5 separate regions of the Homo sapiens genome follow, and regions 2, 3, 4 and 5 are each linked to region 1. The links are contacts of gene promoters, found by promoter capture Hi-C in human tissues and cell types (Jung and others, 2019). All regions are on one chromosome and are shown on one strand. Each heading gives the region's core, a stretch centred on a gene start or on the middle of the fragment in contact. The rest is flanking DNA. Distances are from core to core; before and after follow the strand shown.

Evidence for each region. Contacts are between HindIII fragments. The study calls those that stand out against the background at their distance.
Region 2: the fragment with the promoter of PRSS27 here is called in contact with the fragment with the promoter of TRAF7 in region 1 in 1 of the 25 tissues and cell types used here (lymphoblastoid cells).
Region 3: a contact is called between the fragment with the promoter of FLYWCH1 here and the fragment with the promoter of TRAF7 in region 1, in 1 of the 25 tissues and cell types used here (spleen).
Region 4: a contact is called between the fragment with the promoter of PRSS33 here and the fragment with the promoter of TRAF7 in region 1, in 1 of the 25 tissues and cell types used here (lymphoblastoid cells).
Region 5: a contact is called between the fragment with the promoter of TSR3 here and the fragment with the promoter of TRAF7 in region 1, in 1 of the 25 tissues and cell types used here (spleen).

What each region holds. Positions count from the first base shown.
Region 1 is chr16:2,154,442-2,157,141 of GRCh38, reverse strand. TRAF7 (TNF receptor associated factor 7) reads right to left here and starts at 1,360. Exons shown (of 21, transcript NM_032271.3): 1 at 1,284-1,360. It overlaps SNHG19 (small nucleolar RNA host gene 19), which reads left to right and starts at 1,784. Exons shown (of 2, transcript NR_132114.1): 1 at 1,784-1,999; 2 at 2,220-2,360. It overlaps SNORD60 (small nucleolar RNA, C/D box 60), which reads left to right and starts at 2,037; the gene lies at 2,037-2,119. RefSeq lists enhancers at 1-170, 171-752, 676-815, 826-925, 1,796-1,995 and a silencer at 1,226-1,315. The HindIII fragment of the contact is 10,583 bases long and covers 1-2,700 here.
Region 2 is chr16:2,718,874-2,721,573 of GRCh38, reverse strand. PRSS27 (serine protease 27) reads left to right here and starts at 1,350. Exons shown (of 6, transcript NM_031948.5): 1 at 1,350-1,459. The coding sequence starts at 1,414. RefSeq lists a silencer at 20-779 and an enhancer at 513-1,080. The HindIII fragment of the contact is 19,281 bases long and covers 1-2,700 here.
Region 3 is chr16:2,910,585-2,913,284 of GRCh38, reverse strand. It overlaps FLYWCH1 (FLYWCH-type zinc finger 1), which reads right to left and starts at 1,354. Exons shown (of 10, transcript NM_001308068.2): 1 at 1,131-1,354. RefSeq lists silencers at 721-910, 884-983, 1,014-1,163, 1,184-1,493, 1,544-1,603. The HindIII fragment of the contact is 21,473 bases long and covers 1-2,700 here.
Region 4 is chr16:2,786,166-2,788,865 of GRCh38, reverse strand. It overlaps PRSS33 (serine protease 33), which reads left to right and starts at 1,306. Exons shown (of 7, transcript NM_152891.3): 1 at 1,306-1,333; 2 at 2,262-2,364. The coding sequence starts at 2,319. The HindIII fragment of the contact is 27,852 bases long and covers 1-2,700 here.
Region 5 is chr16:1,350,483-1,353,182 of GRCh38, reverse strand. It overlaps TSR3 (TSR3 ribosome maturation factor), which reads left to right and starts at 1,305. Exons shown (of 6, transcript NM_001001410.3): 1 at 1,305-1,490; 2 at 1,585-1,804; 3 at 2,183-2,376. The coding sequence starts at 1,379. GNPTG (N-acetylglucosamine-1-phosphate transferase subunit gamma) reads right to left here and starts at 1,252. Exons shown (of 11, transcript NM_032520.5): 1 at 1,166-1,252; 2 at 1,024-1,081; 3 at 877-944. The coding sequence starts at 1,217. RefSeq lists a silencer at 1,028-1,727. The HindIII fragment of the contact is 21,021 bases long and covers 1-2,700 here.

The DNA of each region.
Region 1 (2,700 bases), core at 111-2,610:
CTCCTCACTTGGCGAGGGCTAGGGGGCCTGTGTGTGCCCAGGAAGGGGTCTGAGGGGTAGTGAGAAAGGTGGGCAGACAGGCTGGGCGGCATGAAATTCCTGAGCAAGCCAGCAGCCCCTCACCCCCAAGAGCAGGGTGGGCTCCAGCAGGCCCCTGCCCCTGGACTCCAGACTCAACCCCAGCTGACCACTCTGGCCTGGCTCAAGACAACCGTATCTTGACAGCAGGACCCCAGTGGGGACTAGGAGACGATGGCCTAGCCTCCCTCTCTCCTGCTTCCCCAGTGAACTCTGAAGTCTGTGGTCCACACACAGTTAGAAAGCTCTTTACTGGACCTAGATCGGACCGCCTCTCCAGCGCTTCCTCAACCCCAAGTCATTTGCCAGCATAATAACCCCCCCGCCCCACCCCACCATGCACCCTGTGAGCCTGGTCCGGCCTCATCGACTTCACCTCTCCACTTGCCAGTGCTTGCTGGGGTGCGTCAGGCCCCTTCTCACCCCAGGCCTATGTACATCTGGCTCTTTCTACTTGGAATGCTCCTCCTGCATGTCCTGGGACTGGCTGCTTCTCCAACAGGCCTTTGGCTAACGGTAGCGCCGCCCCTACCCCCGGCCAGTACTCACTTTTTCAGCACCCTCTTTCTTTCTTTCACAGCACATACCGCTGCTCCCCATGATTTTAACTACCTATTGTCAATCCCACCACCCTGTCTGTCTAGATGGGGGATGGGGGGAGTTGTTCCGCAGGAGGCATTTGCCAATGCATGGAGACATTTGTTATCGCAATTGAGGAAGGGGTGGTGTTTACTGGTATCTAGCGGCCAGGAGCCAGGCAAGCTGTTCCACATCCTACAATGTACAGGGCAGCTCCTCGCAGCAAAAAGCGACCCGGGCCGCGTGGTCGATGGTGCGGAGGTTGGGGAACCCTGCAGCAGACGCCGAGCACAGGAGAACTGGGACCGTGTTCTCCGCGGTCTCCCGGCGCCCAGAACAGTGCCTGGCACCCGGGAGTCTCGGGGAATGCAGGAAGAAGGAATGAGTAAAGAACTGCGCGAGAACAGGACGGAGCGAGGGACGGACTACTGACTGGCGGACGGACAGCGACGCGGACCCCGACCCTGACCCCGACCCCGACCGTCTCAGCCCCGCCCCCCCCTCCCCGCCCCGGCCCGACCCCTCGCCTCGCCTCGCCTCGCCTCGATCTCCACGCGCCCGATCCCGCCCCACCGCGCGGTCCCGAGGCGCGAGCCCCGGGTCGGGCGCGCCGCGGGGACACTCACCCGCCCGCGGCCGCCCGGGAGCGGCAGCGCCGCCAGCCCGCTTCATGATGCCCCCTCGGCCGCCGGCCGGGAAAGGGACTAGACGCGCGAGCCGGAAGCGCCAGGCCGCTGCGCCCGCCGGGACGTGTAGTTCCCCGCCTCTCCGGGCCCGGACGGCTGCCTCACGCGCCGCACTTCCGAAACTACGACTTCCGGCGGCCTCGTCGTCGCGGGGCGGGAATGGCAGCTTCAGAATCACTCTATGTTGCAGATCGAAGTCTGATTGGCTTTGTTCATCCGTCACTCACCGTTAGGCTTCACGGACTCTGCATAAGGGAGGAGCTTCGGGTCTGGGTCTGAGAGACCGTCTCCAAAAGAAATGCCACGGTACGATTGGTGGAAACAACGCGGCAGGGAGCGGAGCGTACCAGCGGCGGGGGAAGGCGGGCACTTCCGCCAGGATAGCCCAATGACAGAGGTGGGACAGTTTCTATAAAAGCTTGAGCCTCGCCCGCCCCTGTCTTTTCGGGGTCGAGTCCGAGGGGGAAGAGGTTTGTTAATACGTTCGCCATGTGCTACGATCTTGGGACGAACTGAGCCACGAGCGTGGCTTTGAGGGCCGTCCGAACGCTGCAGGCCGGCCAGGTCCCTGGGCGTCCAGGCCTGGCCTACGCACCACTTTGTCCCTTAGCGTTTAAAGGTTTCTTCCCGAATCTCAGGCCCTCAGCTACCTGCAGGTAAGACTGGGCCGGGCTTGGGTTCCCTTATTCTCCCAGTCTGTGATGAATTGCTTTGACTTCTGACACCTCGTATGAAAACTGCACGTGCAGTCTGATTATTTAGCAAGACTGAGGCTTGAGGGTGCGCACTCCTGACGGGGAGCTGAGAGTGGAAACAGGTGTTGCCCGAAACGAAGGAGTGGGGACTTAATGTCTGTATTTTGGCGCTGACTTTCAGGTTTCGTCGCGAGCCGGCTGCAAGTTTTGAACCTAAGTAAACCTCAATCCGGAGGGCCTAGCGGTAAGGTGGGCGCTGTGTCTATTGAAGTGCTTAGCAATAAAGAAAGGTAGTGAGTTGATTCGGTTTTCTCTCAAGTGTCTTTATTTTCCTATTCTGGCACCCCAGAGGTCTGGCTGATCCACAGGCAATCTTGGAAAAGGGTACAGACATGAAAACGGAAGCTCGTTACCAGTGACTTTTCATCTCTTGGGATTGCCTTCTCCATTTCTGCCCGTGATTTTTTTTTTTTTTTTTTGAGACGGAGTTTTGCTCGTTTCCCAGGCGGGAGTGCGATGGCACAACCTCCACCTCAAGCGATTTTCCTGCCTGAGCCTCCCAAATGGCTGGAATTACAGGCGCCCACCACCACGCCCGGCTAATTTTGTATTTTTAGTAGAGACGGGGTTTCTCCGTGTTAGGCTGGTCTCAAACTCCTGAC
Region 2 (2,700 bases), core at 101-2,600, 560 kb before region 1:
CCGCCTCCCACCCCCGACCCGGGAACTCCAGGGACTGGACGGGGAGGGAAGGGTGGGAGGAGGCGGTGGAGGCGGAGGCGGAGACGCGGGAGGGCGGGGCTAGGGAGGGCGATGCGGGGAGCCGGAGCCCGGACCATGAGGCTGGGAGCGCCCCTTCTGCACCCCTGGCCGCCCGCGCCGCGCCCCGCGCCCACCAGAGGGCAGCACCACGACGCGCGCGGACAAGGCTGAGGCGGGAACGGCCGCACCCCCAGCCCCGCCCGGAGCCGCCCGGCCCCGCCCCGCCCGCGAGTACCGACCCCCGGCGCCGGCGGGGAAACAGGTCCGGCGCCCCCGACCCCACGGCCCGGCCCCACTCTGTCTCTGACGTCAGCGCCGTGCCCCAAATAACTTCCTCCCCGAGCCTCTTCCGCCGCGGCGCCGCGCCCAGAGCCAGGCGGGGACACCGAAACGGTAACCCCGGCCCGGCCTTCCCGGAGCCGCTTCCGCCCCGCCTGGTGCCAGGAAGCCCCCGCCCCTTCCAAGGGATGGCAGCCGGGGCCCGGGTCGGCCGCCTGGGCCGCGCTGGCGCGCGCCTGAGGAACTTCTGGGGCCTGCTGTCCCGGGAGGAGGGTCGCTGCGGCCAACTCCGGACCCCGCCCCATGTCCCATCGCCTCCCCTGCCCTCGGCCCCGCAAACACCCCTGGCCTTGACTTTCCCACCAGCGCGGCCCAGCCCCACTGTGTTCCATCGGCGCTCAATAAAATACTGAATGAGGCCGGGCGCGGTGGCTCACCCCTGTAATCCCAGCGCTTTGGGAGGCCGAGGAGGGCGGATCACGAGGTCAGGAGATCGAGACTAGCCTGGCCAACACGGTTAAACCCCGTCTCTACTAAAAATACAAAAAATTAGCCGGGCGTGGTGGCACCTGCCTGTAATCCCAGCTACTCAGGAGGCTGAGGCAGGAGAATGGCTTGAACCTGGGAGACGGAGCTTGCAGTGAGCCGAGATTGCGCTCCAGCCTGGGCGACAGAGCGAGACTCTGTCTCAAAAAATTAAAAAAAATAATAATAATAATAATGAATGAAGCTGGACGGACTTCGCGTGCACCGCGGTCAGCTCGGGGTCTGCTGGGGGGTCTGGGTCAGCTCAGGGTCCAGGAACCGAGGCCAACGGCACCCCGTGCTGCGCTGGGGTGAGGGGTCTGCCCTGGGGTCTCGGGGTTCAGGGCTAGGTCACGGAGGAGTCGGCTCTGGGCGCTTCCTTCCTGAGGAGAGGAGCTGGGCAGGCCGGGCCGACGGGTTGGGCCGCATAGCCGGGCCTGTGCTCATCTCCAGCATAAAACTCCACTTCATGGAGCCTGCACCTCGCTCGTGCTCCAACGCTTCTGCCACCGCCGACCACGGCCCTGCGCCCCAGCCAGGCCTGAGGACATGAGGCGGCCGGCGGCGGTGCCGCTCCTGCTGCTGCTGTGTTTTGGTGAGTCGTGAAGGTGCAGGGTCCTGGTGGTGCAGTCCCCCACCAGGCTCCGCTGCACTGCCTGGGGCTCCGGCTCAGCCCCCTACTCCCTGGGACAGGCTGGGGCTGTGGGACAGGCCATCATCCCTCCTGCCCCTGAGCAGGTGGGAAGGCTCCAGATGTGCCAAGTGGGGAGTCCAAAGTGGGGAGGCAGGGTGGGAGGTGTGCGCACAGGCCCCAGAGGACCCCACCGGCATAACTGGGCAGCACCTCCTCCCATGCCTCTCCGCGGGCACTGGTGTGCCAGCTCTGGCCAGGCTCCCTGCTTCCTGCCACCTCGGCCTCTCCCCCCATTCTCTAGGTGAGGACAGGGGCCTCCTACGTGCAGGATGTGAACTCAGGCTCCAAGTGCCTGGACCATCATACTCGGGGTGGGAGGGTGGCCGAGCCGAGGGCTGCTGCCTGTGCCCGGAAGCCCCAGCAGGCTGGCTGCAGGCTCAGTAGAGAGCTGGGGGCAGGGGGTGTAGGTGGCAGAGGGCCCTGTCTCCTGCTGACAGAGGAACCGGTGATGCGCCACCGTGCCCTCTCCCAGTCCTGGGTCAGGGACAGCAGGTGCCAGCCAGGGGGCCCCACCTGCCAGGCCCCTCCCTGCGGGCCGGGACACTCTCTGTCAGGGAAAACCTCTCACATTCCTGGGCTAGCCTAGCCAGTCTGGCAGCCACCACACTTCCCTGTCCTCAAGTCACCTCCCAGGGCTGGGTCAGGTCATCCCAGGCTGCAGCTTAGCCAGTACTCCAGGCTTCCTTGTTCTCCTGGGTGGGAGGGCACCAGTGGCCCCTCAGTGGCCCGGCCTCCCCCACCCCATGCCCCCAGTCTCCCAGCACAAGGATGGTGCCCTCTGAGCAAGCCATGTGCACAGGAGGTGGAAGGCTGTGACTGCCCCTGAGCGGGGTGAGGAACCAAGGTCATTGCCAAAACTCTTTGGCAATGAGTTTTGCAGTCGGTTCACTAACAGCTGTGACCAGAGGCTGGACTCCTGGACACGTCCTCACTCCCAGCCCGAGGGTGGCACTCCCACCAGGTCTCTGGCTGGTGGTACCCACTAAGCTTCACCATCCCCACCAGCTACCAGCGAATCACAGGCCCAGGCCCCAAACAATGCTCCTGACACCCCCGGCACCCCTGGCTGTTGCTTCCAGCCCCCACAGGGCGCCCACCCTGAAGGGCTCAGCTGTCCACATCCCCCATTTCCCATCAGCCCC
Region 3 (2,700 bases), core at 105-2,604, 760 kb before region 1:
CCCACTCCCACCAACTCAGGACATGATCCCTTACCACGACCTCTTTAGCCCAAGCCAAAGCCTCTGAACGATCTTGCCAGCTTTGGCAAGCAGCCACTCCAATTCTCCACATAGGGTGCTGACAGGTCACTCTTCCTAAAGCTTAACTTTCAGCATGTCTCTCCCCAATTAAATCATCTCCATCTCCAGCCTTAGTGCATCATCAGCTGGGCGTCATAAACACTCCGCAATCTAGCCCCAACCTCAGCCTTGTTCCTTCCACACGTCCCGCCAGTAGCACTTGGGAAAGGAACAAGAGAAACATGATATAATCACACGAGAAAATCTAGATCAAGCCCTGGAAATCATATTGGCCCTTGGAAAGCAGAAATATGCAAATAAAAATAAGCCATTTCGTTGGAATTGGAGTTTGCACATGATTATCTGACTATGGGAGTTCAGCTTCCAGTACAAGGAATAAAGGAACAACAGGCAGGGTTTAGAGCGAGGGTTTCAACTACGTCAGACCCGTTATGTGCAGGCTCCATGGGTTAGCAGCAGCCTTTTGGAACGGGGTGGAAGAGAATGGAACGGAATTTAATCCGAACAGATCCAGCTGCGTCATGTGAGCTTAAACAAGCGTCTCCCTTTAAACTTGTGCTTCAGTCATCCAGACCCACAGGCACAGAGTACACGCGTAAAAGGCATTTCTCAGTGTCGGCTGTGGGTCAACAAAGTTCGAAAGCCGTCACCGGAGATCTATAGGGTCAGAAGCGGGAGCGGGGTGCGTCCCGACCCGCAAAAGTGCAAGGTCACTGGGACCGCCCGAGCTGCAACCGTGGGACGGGGCTGATGCTGCGGGTCCAGGAAGGCAGCGCTGGGCGGGGCAGACACCGCCAGGAAACGGCGGACGAGTGCGGGGATCCTTGATGTGGGGGTGTCGGGCTTAGGCCAGGGGACGGGGGGGTGGGGATGGAGGGGCGAGGAGCAAGGAGGGAATCGCGGGAGACCCCACAGGAGGCGGCCTGAGCGCCGGGACGCAGACCCCTCCCCAGCACCCGCAACCCTCGGGACCCCCGGGAGAGCCGGGCTGCGGGCGCGTCCACGCCGGGGACGCGGGACATTCCCCGCCCGCAGGGGCCTGTCCTCACCGACGGCAGCGGGGCCCTCCCTCTCCCGCGACAGCGCCGCGGCGGATCCTTCAGCCTCTGCCGCTGCAGCAGCGAGCGTCGACCCCGCGACCCAGGCCGCCGCCGCCACCCCGACCCGGGCACCAGCTCCCAGCCCCGACCTGCCCCTCGGGAGCGAGCCCCGTGACCGCGCGCGCGACCCCGCCGGGGAGCCGGCCTTGCGGAACGCTCAGGCGCGCTACTTCAGAGCATGCGCAGCAAGACCGCGCGGCCCGTTCCTTAGGTAAACCGCTGCTCCGGGTCTTCCCTGCGCGGCGCCGAGCCGCAGGCCTGGCCTGTCAGCGCATGGGGGCGGGGACGTAACTCACGGAAAAGGCGGGGCCATCCCGAGATTGGACGGCGGCGTCCAGGGGCGGAGCTAGGATGGGGGAGCTGAACAGGACGCTCTTGGCGTAAAGGGGCTGGGGTAGGGGGCGCTTAATTGAGACCCCAGGACGGTCCCCAGTATCTGAGGCTGCCCGCAGGAAACGGAGCGTTTGCTGAGATGCACTCTTGGGCCTGTCAGTTTCCTGACCCCGTGGGAAGGCGATTCTCATGCATCTCATTGACGCCCCCAGTGACCCTACCCCAGAGCGGAACCAGTGTGAGATTCAAATAAACAGCGATAGCAACGGATTATAACCTTGACTACGATATGAGTCCAAACTGAAGGAAATAAGTCAACGGGGGAGAAGGGACAGTTGTTTCTTACATCAGAAAGCCAACAACGACAAAAAAATACCTGGGCCGGGCGCGGTGGCTCACGCCTGTAATCCCAGCACTTTGGGAGGCCGAGGCGGGTGGATCACCTGAGGTCAGGAGTTCGAGAACAGCGTGGCCAACATGGTGAAACCCCGTTTCTACTAAAAATACGAACATTAGTCGGGCGTGGTACTGGGCGCCTGTAATCCCAGCTACTCGGGAGGCTGAGGCAGGAGAATAACTTGAACCCGGGAGGCGGAGGTTGCAGTGAGCCGAGACGGCGCCACTGCACTCCAGCCTGGGCGACAGAGTGAGACTGTGTCTAAAAAAAAAAAAGCAGAAATATTACATAGTATTACAAAGTCTGCATGACGTGTGATGTAACACATTGAATGTAGAAGCAGGTATGAGAGCCAGTAGTCTTCTTTTAAGCCCGCAACAAAGATATTTGCAAAAATGTATAACTATGTCACTCGTCTCACTAAATTTCTTTGGGAAAATATTGTACTTTTTCATAAAACTATGTTAACACAATCAGCTTACTATTTTTTGGTAAGATCTTTATTGAAATATAATTCACATACCATGCATTTCTCCCATTTAAAGTGTACAATTAAATGATATGTAGTATAGTCAGAGAGTTGTGCAAACAGCACCATAGTCAGTTTTAAAACCTTTCATCACTCCAAGAAGAAACCTTTAGCCACCACCCTCCAATTTGCTAATCACCCCAGCCCTAAGTAATATGATCTATTTTCTGTCTTTATAGATTTGCGTATTCTGCATATTTCATATAAATGAAATCATGCAACAAATATGTGGTCTCTTGTGACTGACTTCTTTCGCCTAG
Region 4 (2,700 bases), core at 57-2,556, 630 kb before region 1:
TGCTAGGTGCTGTGGCATGCACCTGTGGTCCCAACTACTTGGGAAGCTGAGGTGGCAGGATCACTTGAGCCCAGAGGTCAAGGACGCAGGGAGTTGTGATTGTACCACTGCACTCCAGCCTGGGTGACAGAGCAAGACCCTGTCTCTCTCTCCCTTTTTATTTTTTTTTGAGACAGAATCTCACTGCGTCGCCCAGGCTGGAGTGCAGTGGCATAATCTCGGCTCACTGCAACTTCCACCTCCCGGGTTCAAGCAATTCCTGTGCCTCAGCCTCCCGAGTAGCTGAGATTGCAGGCGCCCACCATCAGGCCTGGCTAATTTTTGTATTTTTAGTAGAGACGAGGTTTCACCATGTTGGCCAGGCTCGTCTCAAACCCCTGACCTCAAATGAGCCACCCATCTCGGCTTCCCAAAATGCAGGGATTACAGGCATGAGCCACCATGCTTGGCCAAGACCCTGTCTCTTTAAAAAAAAAAAGAAAGAAAAACAAAAAAAAAAAAAAGGAAAAAAGTACAACTATGGCAGGGCTGCAAAGGAGGCAGGAGGAGGTGGCAGAGCAGAAGGCTGAGGGATAAGAGGAGTTCACTATGCAGAGAGGGACTTGAGAGACTTCTAGGCAGCGAACACTGTGTATGAGCCCAAGAGGGAACTACAGGGCCCTGGACCATCCGGGCCCCGGTCCTCCACGGGCCTCGAGAGAAGGGGAGTTCCTGTCCCCTGACCCCAGCATCTTGCTCTGTCTCGGCCACCCCAAACCAAAGACTGCACTGGTCCCCAAGGTCAAGTCTCCCCCTGCCTCTGGTCAAGTAAGGAGTGCCACCAACTTTGAACCAGTCCCTTTCCACCTCCAGCTGCTCCAGACCCCGGATCTGGAAGGGGGCTGGCCATGCTGGGGTCTCTGGGTGGAGCTGTCTGGCCAGGACTTCCGTCTGAGATGGGATTTCTGGACAGAACAATGGAGCGCAGAAGCTCCAGCAACGTGTGCTCTGCAGGGAGCCCAGGTCAGGTTTGGAGAGGAGTTGCCCCGGATCCTGCAGAGCTTCCCCACCTGACTGCCACCCCTCCCAGCACCTACCCGCACCACTGCTCTCCGCCAGCCCCCACTTCTAGTACCTTGGCGCAAGGCAGGCTTCCTTTGAGAAACCCATTGACCCTTTCCTGCCACCTCTGAAGCTCTGCTCAAAGCATCTTTGTTTGAGGCTGGTCCGGTAAAGCCACAGCCCCGCCCCGGCCCTGTTCATTACTCCTTGGCTGAGCCTCGCGCTCTCCTGGCACTTTAAGCCCCCAGGCCCTCCCTCAACCCCAGTCAGCAGAAGGCGCCAGGCTGTGAGGGTGAGAGCAAGCCAGGGGCTGTGGGGGCTGCAGGGGCAGCCAGTGGGTGAGGATGAGGGTGAGGACGAGGAGGGGTGAAGGATGGGGGAGGGGGTGAGGATGAGGGAAGTGGTGAAGATGAGGGAGGGGAGTGAGGAGGAAGGGGGTGAGGATAGAGGAGGGGGTGAGGATGAGGGAGGGGGTGACGATGGGGGGGTGAAGGATGGAGGAGGGGTGATGAGAGAGGAGTGAGGATGAGGGAGGGGGTGAAGGATGAGGGAGGGGGTGAGGATGAGACAGGGGTGAGGATGAGGGAGGGGGTGAGGATGAGGGAGGGGAGTGAGGAGGAGGGGGCTGAGGATGGAGGAGGGGGTGAGGATAGAGGAGGGGTGAGGATGAGGGAGGGGTGAGGATGAGAGAGGGGTGAGGATGAGAGGTGAGGATGAGGGAGGGGGTGAGGATGAGGGAGGGGAGTGAGGAGGAGCAGGGGTGACGATGGAGGACGGGGTGAGGATAGAGGAGGAGGTGAGGATGAGGGAGGGGGTGAGGATGAGAGAGGGATGAGGATGAGGGAAGGGGTGAGGATAAGGGAGGGGAGTGAGGAGGAGGGGGGTGAGGATGGAGGAGGGAGTGAGGATGAGGGAGGGGGTGAGGATGAGGGAGGGGGTGAGGATGGGGGAGGGGGATGAGGGAGGGAGTGAGGATGACCGAGGGGGGTTAGGCTCCAGGGCTTCTGTCGAGACCAAGGATGCCCAAATATCTGGGTGGTGGGTGCTGCATACCTGGGCCCTGGGCAGAACGAAGGGTATACAGCCTGGGCCACCAGGATAAGTCCAGAACCCACCAGGAGCTGAGGACAGACAGAAGGACCACGGAGGGGGTGACGGGCTGGTGTGAGGATTGGTGCCCCTGGGCCAGGACTCTCCTCTCTTCTCCCTGCTGGCTCCAGACCAGAGTCCAAGCCCTAGGCAGTGCCACCCTTACCCAGCCCAGCCTTGAAGACAGAATGAGAGGGGTTTCCTGTCTCCAGGTCCTGCTCCTTCTGGTGCTGGGTGAGTGGGGACAGGGACTGGGGGTGAGGGCCGCAGACACCTTGGCTCCCAGTTCTCCCATCTCACTGCTCCCTGGGCCGGGCTCCCTGGAGCACTCTTGGGCTTTCTAATCTTGATTCCAAGGGCTCAATCCTCTCTGCCACTGACCTTGACCTCACCACACCTCGATGTGCTTGTCGGTGTCATGCTCATACGCCCTTGCCCCCTGCACCTTCACAGTGCTCTGGGGAGGGTTAAATAAGATAACAGACGGCACGAAAGCCTGGCGCAATGTCAGGGCAACATTGTTTCACCCTCCTTCCTCATCTCTGGCCTCCCCTCCAACTCCGTTATTTG
Region 5 (2,700 bases), core at 56-2,555, 800 kb after region 1:
CAATACGGTGAAATAAACCCTATCTCTACTAAAAATACAAAAATTTGCTGGGCGTGATGGTGATGCATGCCTGTGATCCCAGCTACTCGGGAGGCTGAGGCATGAGGATCGCTTGAACCTGGGAGGCGGAGGTTGCAGTGAGCCGAGATCGTGCCACTGCACTCCAGCCTGGGCGACAGAGCGAGACTCTTGTCTCAAAAAAAAAAAAAAAAAAATTCTTGGATTTTTGTCTATTATATTTAATACTCATTCAGCGTTTAAATGATATATATACTCATGACCCACCAATTCCACTTCTGGAATCCTGCACTGGGAAACCGCTCACCTGAGGGCAAACCAAAGCACCTACACAGCATGTTCTCCACAGAACTATTTCTAATGGCCAAAAAAATGGCAAGAACCTAAATACAATCGGGGAGTGCAGTGCCATCCTATCGCGTGCTGAGCACCAAGAGAAAGAACGAAGACCTATATCATCACCATGAAGCGTCCCGAGAGATACAGCGAGTGACAACGACAAATCAGCCAAATACTCGCGCAGCATGATTTTTTAAAAAAGCGATTAGATTACAAAAACTATACGTTTTCCAGTTGCATAGACACGCACGTAAAAGCACAGAAACGCGTCTGCAAAGTCACCAGACTATTAACAGCAGTTACCTCTCGGAAAGGAAAGGAAGGACTAAGTCTGGAGATAATTTAATTCGCTACAAGAACGTTCTGGTATATTCTCTCGTACTTCCACATTAATTTTAGAAGGCTGACAAACCAATGCTTTAGACTCCGGGCCGTAACTCTCAGGGTCACTCATCCATCCTCCACTGTTGCTGCTCCCCGCGGCCACCCCCGCGCCGGCCAACAGCGCTCCTCACTCACCAGACACGGGTGAAGGATCCCTCTTGGCCTGGAGGCGACTGGCCTGAGGCAAGAACGGGTTGTTCACCCTACGGGAAGCGGCAAGGTCAGCGGGGAACGGGCCCGGGCCGTCCCCCGCTCGAGCCGCCAGCCCGCGAGGCTGCTCACCCAAACGCGTTGGGCTCCTCCACCACCTTCATCTTCGCTGCACCTGCCGGCGCGGGCCCTACGGGGAGCGAGACCGTGAGCGGGGAGGCCGGGGTGCAGAGCGCGCGCGGGGCCTGGGGACGCGGACGGCCGGGCCACTCACCGCCGGCCGAGAGCCCGAGGAGCAACAGGAGCCGCGCCAGCCCCGCCGCCATCGCGCCGCAGCGGCCGCCGCGCGGTCACGTGAAGTGACGGTCACGTGACCACGGGGACCGGAAGTGGCGTCCGGCGCAAGCGCTGGCAGCCGCACAGCCCATTGGGAGGCCGAGGGGCGCGGCCGTGGGGTGGGGAGTCCCCGGCACCCCAGGTCCGCGCCATGGGCCGCAGGAGGGCAGCGCGCGGGCCGGGGGCGGAAGGCGGCCGCCCTCGGCACCTCCCGACGCGCTCCCTGGAGGCCTTCGCCGAGGAGGTCGGCGCCGCGCTGCAGGGTGAGCGAGGCGTGATGGGGAGAGCGGGTCAGGGTTTGAGGGCCTGCCCGGGGGTCCCACGCTGAGGCCGAGTGCCCTTCTCTCTCTCGTGCAGCTTCCGTGGAGCCAGGGGCGGCTGACGGCGAGGGCGGCCCGGGCCCGGCGGCGCTGCCCTGCACGCTGGCCATGTGGGAGTTGGGCCACTGCGACCCCCGGCGCTGCACGGGCCGCAAGCTGGCCCGCCTGGGGCTGGTGCGCTGCCTGCGCCTGGGCCACAGATTCGGCGGTCTGGTGCTGAGCCCCGTGGGCAAGCAGTACGCGTCCCCCGCAGACAGGTAGGCGCGGGAGGCCTGCCCGAGGTCGTCTTCATTTCCAGCGCGTGGTTCCCTTCAGGGATGGTTTAGTGGCACTTGTATGTCGCACCCACATCCACACCCACGTGGGCAGGGAACGTCTGTCTAGTTTGCCTCCGTTGCGTAGCGCAGAGCCTGGGATAAAGGAGGTTTTGGGGTAATAAACGTTTGTTGAGTGAATAAACACATGCTCCAGGTGCCCCAAGCAGCTGCCTCAAAAGCTTGCTCGTGAAGTCCGTTTGAGGGTGTTTGGGGATGGCGGAATGATGTCCCTGAATCCCTTAGCTAGGCCATTCTCCGGGGCATGCTCCACCTTGGGTAGTGCTGGCTCCTGAACTTATCCCATGCTGTCCCTGGCAGACAGCTGGTGGCGCAGTCTGGGGTCGCCGTCATCGACTGCTCCTGGGCCAGGCTGGACGAGACACCGTTTGGGAAGATGCGAGGGAGCCACTTGCGCCTGTTGCCCTACCTGGTGGCCGCCAACCCCGTGAACTATGGCCGGCCCTACAGACTTTCCTGCGTGGAAGCGTTTGCTGCCACCTTCTGCATCGTAGGTGAGTCCAGGGGCCCCACAGCAGTGTGACCCGGCGGCCTGCTGTTCCTGCTATGCTCCCAGCATCATGTTTCCTGCCGACAGACCCCAGGAGGAGCATAAGGGACGGACAGGGGAACAGTTCAGACAGACCACGGTTCCAGCCCCAACTGTCACTTCAGGTTTTCGGCCTGTGGAGTTGCAGTAGAGGCAGAATGGGATCGCTGTTCTATCAGGGCCGGTGTGTGGGGTGCCATTCATTATCAGGGCACCACTGCCCAGAGAATCCTCCTTATCCTCCACGTCCTCCTTACTGAATTGCTGATCTAAAGAGGCCCTGATGAGG